2 separate regions of the Homo sapiens genome follow, and region 2 is linked to region 1. The links are contacts of gene promoters, found by promoter capture Hi-C in blood cells and fetal thymus (Javierre and others, 2016). All regions are on one chromosome and are shown on one strand. The core of a region is centred on a gene start or on the middle of the fragment in contact, and the rest is flanking DNA. Distances in the headings are between cores, read along the strand shown. Region 1 holds the start of KRTAP20-3 (keratin associated protein 20-3). Region 2 holds the start of KRTAP15-1 (keratin associated protein 15-1).

What was found. The method cuts DNA at HindIII sites, captures the fragments that hold promoters and counts their contacts. A CHiCAGO score of 5 or more calls a contact.
Region 2: a contact is called between the fragment with the promoter of KRTAP15-1 here and the fragment with the promoter of KRTAP20-3 in region 1, in 2 of 17 cell types (monocytes and neutrophils). The highest score is 5.4, in monocytes.

The regions. Positions count from the first base shown.
Region 1 is chr21:30,641,387-30,645,855 of GRCh38, forward strand. KRTAP20-3 (keratin associated protein 20-3) reads left to right here and starts at 1,478. Exons shown (of 1, transcript NM_001128077.1): 1 at 1,478-1,750. The coding sequence starts at 1,503. The coding sequence ends at 1,637. The HindIII fragment of the contact is 10,269 bases long and covers 1-4,469 here.
Region 2 is chr21:30,438,967-30,443,080 of GRCh38, forward strand. It overlaps KRTAP15-1 (keratin associated protein 15-1), which reads left to right and starts at 1,309. Exons shown (of 1, transcript NM_181623.3): 1 at 1,309-1,903. The coding sequence starts at 1,362. The coding sequence ends at 1,775. All of the region lies in intron 3 of LOC105372772 (a long non-coding RNA gene), which reads right to left. The HindIII fragment of the contact is 9,658 bases long and covers 1-2,133 here.

The DNA of each region.
Region 1 (4,469 bases), core at 228-2,727:
GCTGAGTTGTCTCTTCTTTCTCAACATACACCTATGAATTTATGCTGATTTTCCAGTTGGAGAAGGAAAAATTAGTCCTGGATTATAGATGGTTCTGCCAATATGGTAGCACTGCCTAAAAGTGGATGACTGAAGTACAACAGATCAAATCGGGGATTACCCTAAAGGTCAGTGGTGAAGGAAAATTTTCAATTATTTTTAATCATCTTAAGAAATGATAGTATCTAGATTCAGCCTGCCTTTGAGAACTTAAGTCTACATATAAGTACATGATACAGACAGAGTCAATATCCCTACAGAAAAATTAATAGTCATGCCTTCTGTTATATTTGGGTCTCAAAAATGTCTACTTTACGTTCCTGTGACTTTGGAATCAGATAAGATTCTCAATGCTTTTCTTTTCTCCGAAGAAACATATCTACATTGCAGTGCAGGTACAAGATAATCAACCAAACAACTTTTTAAAGAATGCTTAAGGTGTGGAGAAGAAGGAACTAAACAGGCAAGAAAAGGGCACTACTTTTAAGAGAGCATAGCAATAGGAAAACTACAGAATAATATGTGATTGGTGGGAGTTTGTACAGAATAAATCACAGTTGATCCTTGAACAATGCAGGGATTAGGAGTGCCAACCTCCACGCAGTTGAAAATCTGAGTATAACTTTTGACTCCCCAAAAACTTAACTACTAATAGCCTACTGTTGACCAGAAGCCTTACCAATAACATAAACAGTTGATTAATACATGCTTATGTTACCTGTAATGAGAGATTATACTCCTATAATAAAGTAGGCTAAAGAAAAGAAAATTTTATTAAGAAAATAAAGAAAAAGAGAAAATGGATTTACTATTCACTAAGTGGAAGTGGATCATCATAAAGGTCTTCAGCCTTATTGTCTTCATGTTGAGTAGGTTGAGGAGGAGAAGGAGGAGGAGGGGTTGGTCTTGCTGCCGGAGTGGCAGAGGTGAAGAAAATCTGCTTAATATAAGCGTATCTGTGCAGTTCAAACTCATGGTATTCAAGAGTCCACTGTATTTGCTACTAAGTTTTATAGCGATAACATCACAGCTGTGTTGATTAAGATTTAAATATGCATATAAGAAGAAGGGTATTATTAGCAAAGTGATCGGAAGAGGATGGCATTTGCCTCCTCCACGTGATGTCATCCAACATAGCTACAAAGGTTAAATTCGGCATCAGTGTGAGTAAGGTCATGGAACTCAGTATTTTTTTTTCCTTTAAAGTCTATCAGCTGTTTGGCAGGATCATAACATACTGAGAAGAAAATCTCAATTTTATCAGGATAGGGAGTCTTTTTTTAAAATCTAAAGATACAAGATTAATGAGATTTTTAAATACAGGTTGGTCTATATGACAATGTCAGGAGTGCCTGTGGTTTGTCACACCTCCACTGAGACTGATAAAAGACCCAGTATTTTAGTGTTTTTATGCACTAAAACTTATGCTGGCCTCTCAGGCTAGAGACTTAAATCCTGACACAATGAGCTACTATGGCAACTACTACGGAGGACTGGGCTATGGCTATGACTGTAAATATAGTTATACCTCTGGCTTTGGTGCCTTTAGAATCCTGGACTGTGGCTACAGATGTGGCTGTGGTGGGGTATGGATTTGACTGCTGCCACCAATATGATTATGCTACATGCTTATTATCAGGCACTGACTGAATAATATCTACAATTGGGTCCATTTTCTTATGAGACAGGGGTGCTGTTCTACTACACTTTTTTTAATTTGTTTAACCCAATTAGAATTCTTAATGATTCCCTATAATCCCAGCACTTTAGGAGGCCGAGGCGGGTGGATCACCTGGGGTTAGGAGTTCGAGACCAGCCTGGCCAACATGGCAAAATCCCATCTCTACTAAAAGTTAAAAAAATAGCCAGGTGTGGTGGTGGGTGCCTGTAGCCCCAGCTACTGGGGAGGCTGAGGCAGGAGGATCACTTGAACCCAAAGGCAGAGGTTGCAGTCAGCCGAGATGGCACCACTGCACTCCAGCCTGAGCAACAAAATGAGATTCCATCTCAAAAAAACAAAAATAATGCTTAGTTATTCAATCTAATTCTAGGCAAAGAACACACATCATTAAATTCACACTAAATCCACATCAGTGCCCCAGATTAACTACATTTTTCTCTTCCAAACTGATGTGTTTTCATAATTTACCAAGCAAATTACTTTTTGATATGTTTCAGGAGTAGGGAGCTCTAGGTTTATTTTTAATTAAACTTACTTTGGCCAGGCCAATGTCATTCATTTTTTAAATTTATTAATTACTCACTTGTTTAATAAGTCCTCATTAAGTAATTTCTATATAGGGCTTCCTGTTAAGTCTTAGTGTTACTTATGGGAGAAGAGTTTTTAAGCAGAAAAACAAATGTTTAAATAAACATGTATGCTACAACATGATAGGTGATGTAATAGCCACGTAGGAACACAGAGGAGAAGCTCATGTTTGGATGCAAAAGAGCGAGATTGTAGAGCAAACAGATCAAAAATATTCTCATTGAAGGTTACATTTGAATAAATTTTTAACCAACGAAAAATACATTGGAGGTAAAGTGTATGCCAGGCAGGGGAAACAAATATGCAAAGCCATGAAAAAAGTATTGCACTGCAAAGTCATAAATTGATGTTATTTCTTGAGAGAACAGTGGGCAAAGTCACTGGCAGGAAATGAAGCCCTGGGCAGTGAAGAGAAACTAGAACATCAAGGCCATATATATTTTGCAATGGGTGTACTGGATAATGTTTTATAAAGTTGTAATATTTTCCTTTACCTGGATGAGATTGGAAACTATTATTCTAAGTGAAGTAACTCAGGAATGGAAAACCAAACATCGTATGTTCTCACTGATATGTGGGAGCTAAACTATGAGGATGCAAAAGTATAAGAATGATACAATGGACTTTGGGAATGTGGGGGGAAGGGTGAGAAGGAGGTGAGGGATAAAAGACTACAAATATGGTGCAGTGTATACTGCTTGGGTGACAGGTGCACCAAAATCTCACAAATCACCACTAAAGAACCTACTCATGTAATCAAATACCAACTGTACCCCAATAACTCATGGAAAAATAAAATAAAAATAAGAAGCGCATGTTTTATACAAATAATTATGGCATCCAATTGAAGGAAAGGTGGCCAAGGAGTATGACCACAGACCAAACGACCATTCTGGAGGCTGTGTAAGCAGCCAATGCAAGGTCTTAATGTAAAAGCGGCAACTAAGATTCCTATGAAGGCCTAGATCAAATAGATTATTATGGGATAGAAGTTAAAGAACATGCCCATGTGGTATGAGAATGGAGGGGGCTAAGGAATAAAACAGAGCACAAAATAAACAAGGACTTGAACAGTCAACGACTGACTGTGGAACTAATGGCACATGTGATACGGGAATCGGAACATTTGGGGGACAATCAAAGTGGAGCCGCAAAAGTTTACTTGAGTACACGTAAATGTCATCTGTGGGAGGGCCAAATAAAGATTTTTCCTGGCAGGTTGTTACAAAAATCTACAACTCAGGAGAAAACTGAGTTTTAAATATAGAAAATAATTGGATAAAGTTCGTCGTAACTTCAGAAATACAGTGTATTAGTCCGTTCTCACTCTGATCTGAAGAAATATCCAAGACTGGGTAATTTATAAAGGAAACAGGTTTAATTAACTGACAGTTCTACATACCTGGGGAGGCCTCAGGAAACTTACAATCATGGCAGAAGCGGAAGAAGTCACGTCCTTCTTCACAAGGCAGCAAGAAGGAGAAGAATGAGCACAAGGGGGAAAATCCCCTTATAAAACCATCAGAAGTCGTGAGAAAGTACTCGCTCTCAGGAGAACAGCAGCATGAGGGTAACCACCCCATGATTCAATTACCTCTCTCTGGGTCCCTCCCATGCCACCTGAGGATTATGGGAACTGCAATTCAAGATGAGATTTGGGGAGGGGGAACAAGGCCAAACCATATCATAGAGTATTCCAATAATTATAGGTGAATTAAAAAAAAAGGTGTTTGCAAATCAGGGAAGGAGCAGATAAAAGTTAAAAAGGAAATGAAAAGGGAGTCATGGCAGGAAAATCAAGGGCCCACCAACTTTCTGGGAAGAGAAACTTCTTAATCTTCCTCTCTTCAAACATGGATTTTTTCAGAAAGGATTTCTAGAGTAATAACGTAAATTCTGACGCTGAGCTAGATGCTGACAATTACACGGTCAGTAGTATTGGCATGTTCCCTGCCTTCACAAAGGTTAACATCAAGAGGGGTTGACAAAATATCATAAATGCAATCACAGTAAAGCAACAGAGGCCTTAGTGCTTAGGTATGGGAGAGTCTCTCCAGTCCTCCATGTGTTGGTATGGACCCTAAACTCCATCCACATGATTGCCATGGGAGCAGCAATTTTGAGTATGATCTTCATGCCCTGACAGGAGTTGATGGGTCCA
Region 2 (4,114 bases), core at 59-2,558, 200 kb before region 1:
TATCCTTCCCACCCCTTTATTTCAATTTATAAAGTCATTTGTTACTATGAATTCTTTACATATTTTATCTTTCTGTGAATACTACATGGGATAGACATTTCCCTCATTTCTTGCTTTTCTTTTCCCTCTCTGGTAAAAATGTCACCCTCTGAGAGAAAAGAAAGGAAAAGATTAACGATTTACATTTTACTTATAGTGCTTATTATTTTCCTCTCAGTAACATCAACATGACCAAAAATTACTTATACCTTATGGGGATAAACGGTTTTTTATAATCAAACTTATTGATGACTTCTATGAAGAAGCAAATCAACCTTTGAGTAAGGGATTTCTTTAGTAGTTTTACAATGTAAACTTCAAAGCACTTGTTCAAAAATTTCACCCTTCATTCTTAACTCTTCATGTGCACAAGAGTGACTTAGCTACTTGTGTTATAAGAAATCTAAACTTAAATATGTTAGGCACTCATTTAGCATGTCTACCAAATAAGGATTGTTATTGGGTTATTTCTTCTAATGGTTCAAAGAATTGAAAGAAGGAATAGATATTGAAATTTTTTTTCTGTTCTCAATTGAATTTATAAAATTGGAGCAAGATCAAAGTCCCTTCCAGATTACAAGGTATTTTTCAGATCTTTACAAATACCAGAACTCTCAGTGTCTTAGCCGTTTGATCCAATTTCTAGAAGGACAGGATGAATGAAGCATCAAGTTTTTTTCTTTGTTTTTTTGTTTCTTTGTTTGTTTGTTTGTTTTGGAGATGGAATCTTGCTCTGTCTCCCAGGCTGGAGTGCAGTGGTACGATCTCGGCTCACTGCAAACTCCGCCTCCCGGGTTCAAGCAATTCTCCTGCCTCAGCCTCCTGAGTAGCTGGGATTACAGCCGCCCACCACCATGCCCGGCTAATTTTTGTATTTTTAGTAGAGACGGAGTTTCACCATGTTGGTCAGGCTGGTCTGGAACTCCTGACCTCGTGATATGCCTGCCTCAGCCTCCCAAAGTGCTGGAATTACAAGTGTGAGCCTCCGCGCCCGACCCTTTGAAGCATCAGTCTTATAGGTACAATTATGGTGGTTTTCATTCTACCTAAGCAAGATGAATGAGAAATGGCATTTTTGTTTCATGAACAATTGCTTTGAAAAACTAATGAAATTCTTTCATGTAGAAGTCTACGTTCATAAATAAAATTCTTTGAGTGTTAATATATTTCATTTTGACTGCAGCCTAATTAAGTGTTCTCATTAGAATGGGCACTTGTGACTACACCTATTGCTAGAGTATGTCAGTGTCCAGTATAGAAGGTAACATTCACACACACACGCTCCTCACTGCAAATCACCTGAGCTCAGAACTCCTGTTAACATGTCTTACAACTGCAGCTCTGGAAACTTCTCCTCCTGCTGTTTTGGAAGTTACCTGAGGTATCCAGTTTCCACTTATAATTTGTTCTACCCCAGCAATGCCATCTATTCTCCAAATACCTGCCAACTGGGCTCCTCTCTCTACAATGGCTGTCAGGAGACCTACTGTGAGCCCACCAGCTGCCAGACATCCTGCACTTTGGCCAGATCCTATCAGACATCCTGTTACTGCCCAAAGAATTCCATCTTCTGCAGTCCCCGCCAGACTAACTACATAAGATCCCTTGGATGTGGAAACACTGGCCTTGGATCTCTTGGTTGTGGAAGCACTGGCTTCCAATCTCTGGACTGTGGGTCCAGCTTCTACCACCCAACTACCTTTTCATCCAGGAATTTCCAGGCAACTTGTTACTAACCAGCCTTTGGGTCTCGCCTTTTTGGATCATCTTACTGAATATTCTCCATTCTCTCATGATTATTTCTGTACTCTATGGAACTGCAACACTCAGCCTGTCCAATATCTGTGATTGTTGACCATCTACATCAGTAGGACTCAGCATCCTAGCCCTCTTGGAAGTATATGATTGAACACGGACAAATTAATCTTGACCTAGGACCCTTCCTAAATCTGACAGGAGATATATCTTGAATTTCAATTTTTGTGCCAATGCTCAGGATCATTTCTGTTATCATCTTTCTAAAATCCTTCTCTCATTATTTTCCCAGAACTCTTCCACTCAAATATATTTCAAATAGTTACAATATTTTAAATAAGCTTATTTCTTTGGCATGAATTCTGGCATTCCATTTTATTTTGTTAATACAATACACTTAGGCTGGGCATGATGGCTCACACCTGTAATCCCAGCACTTTGGGAGACTGAGGCTGGCGGATCACTTTAGGTCAAGAGTTTGAGGCCATCCTGGCCAACACAGTGAAAACCCATTTCTACTAAAAATACAAAAATTAGCAAGGCCTGGTGTGCACCTATAATCCCAGCTACTCAGGAGGCTGAGGCAGGCGAATCACTTGAATCTGAGAGACGGAGGTTGTAGTCAGCTGAGATCATGCCACTACACTCCAGCCTGGGCAACAAAGTGGGACTCTGTGTCAAAAAATAAATAAATAAATAAGTAAAAATGATACATTTAGTGAATTCATCCCATATCTTCAACTGTCTTCCTTAGGTACACTTTTTGTTTGTTTCATATGTTTTATTGATATTTTGTTGAATAGAAAACAAAGTGCAAAGAAAATTTAAATATATAACCTATCACATGTTTTAAGAGATTTAAATCCCCTCATAAGTGCATTTTTTATATATTTGCTTCAGAAAATTTTGTTTTAGTCTTTCATTGAAAAAAAATTTATTGAGGTCCTATTATATACCAAGCATTACGCTGAACAAAGACACAAATTCTCTGCTTCAGGAAGTTCCCACAAATACAATTATAACTTATATGGCAAATGGAATAATGGGGTGAAGACAAGATTCAGTGGGAACACAAAGAAGAACTTCAAAAACACTCAGAGAAAATAATATAAACCCATTATTGAAAATAGAGTAAATAAGTTACACTTAATTTTAGAATAACAAATCTTACTGATCTATTGTGTCCATTGCAGTCCCTTGAAAAGCAGCTGCCAAATGGGATTAAACATAAAAAAGATTTATTGGTGAAAATGCCAGTGATAGATAATGGGGAGGTAGTTGGAGAGGTCTGGGAGAGCCATACTACTGTGGAGTATGTCTAGCCTCAGTGAAGGACAGAGGGAACTAAGTTTGGTCTAGAAGAAACTTCTTTAAGAAACTCCCCATCGGGCGTGGTGGCTCATGCCTGTGATCCCAGCGCTTTGGGAGGCCGAGGCGGGTGGATCGCGAGGTCAGGAGATCGAGACCACCCTGGCTAACACGGTGAAACCCCGTCTCTACTAAAAATACAAAAAATTAGCCGGGCCTGGTGGCGGGTGCCTGTAGTCCCAGCTACTCGGGAGGCTGAGGCAGGAGAATGGCGTGAACCCGGGAGGCAGAGCTTGCAGTGAGCCAAGACAGTGCCACTGCACTCCGGCCTGGGCGACAGAGCGAGACTCCGTCTCAAAAAAAAAAAAAGAAAAGAAAAGAAAAGATAAGAAAAAAAAAGAAACTCCTTTAGGGCAATTCTAAGAAAGTTTTGGCAAGTCACCCATCAAAGGAGCCTTACATATCACCAAAATGGGCCTGCCTTAGCATCCTTGCCAAGAGTATTTACTAACAAGAATGGATGACAGCACAACCTTGGCACAGAAGTGATGGTAGATTCAAAGACCAACTGCTGTAGCTGTCAATCAGTCAGTAATGCTCCCTGAAGCAGAAGATTTAAGAGGTACATTTGCATAGCTTCCATCTTCATGATATTTATTCTGATCCTAAGTAAGCTCAGCACTGATAAACAGTGGTAAAATAATAAATAATAACTTGGAATTTTTCATGTTTTTCTTACTTTGATCAAAATGTCAATTATTATGTCAGACCCTATAGAGGACCCACTGAATGAAAATCTAACCCTACTACTGAGTAAGAGAAAATCAAGAATTATTAGATGGTTATCTTTGATTTTAATTGATGCATTAAGCAGACAGGACTCAGGACACAATTAGGAAACTGCTTCATTTTTTTTTAACACCACTGAACTTCACACTTGAATTTAGAGCTCTAGCTTCCCTGAATCCCTGAACAACACAATGGGTAGATCTATGATCACATTAAGATATTA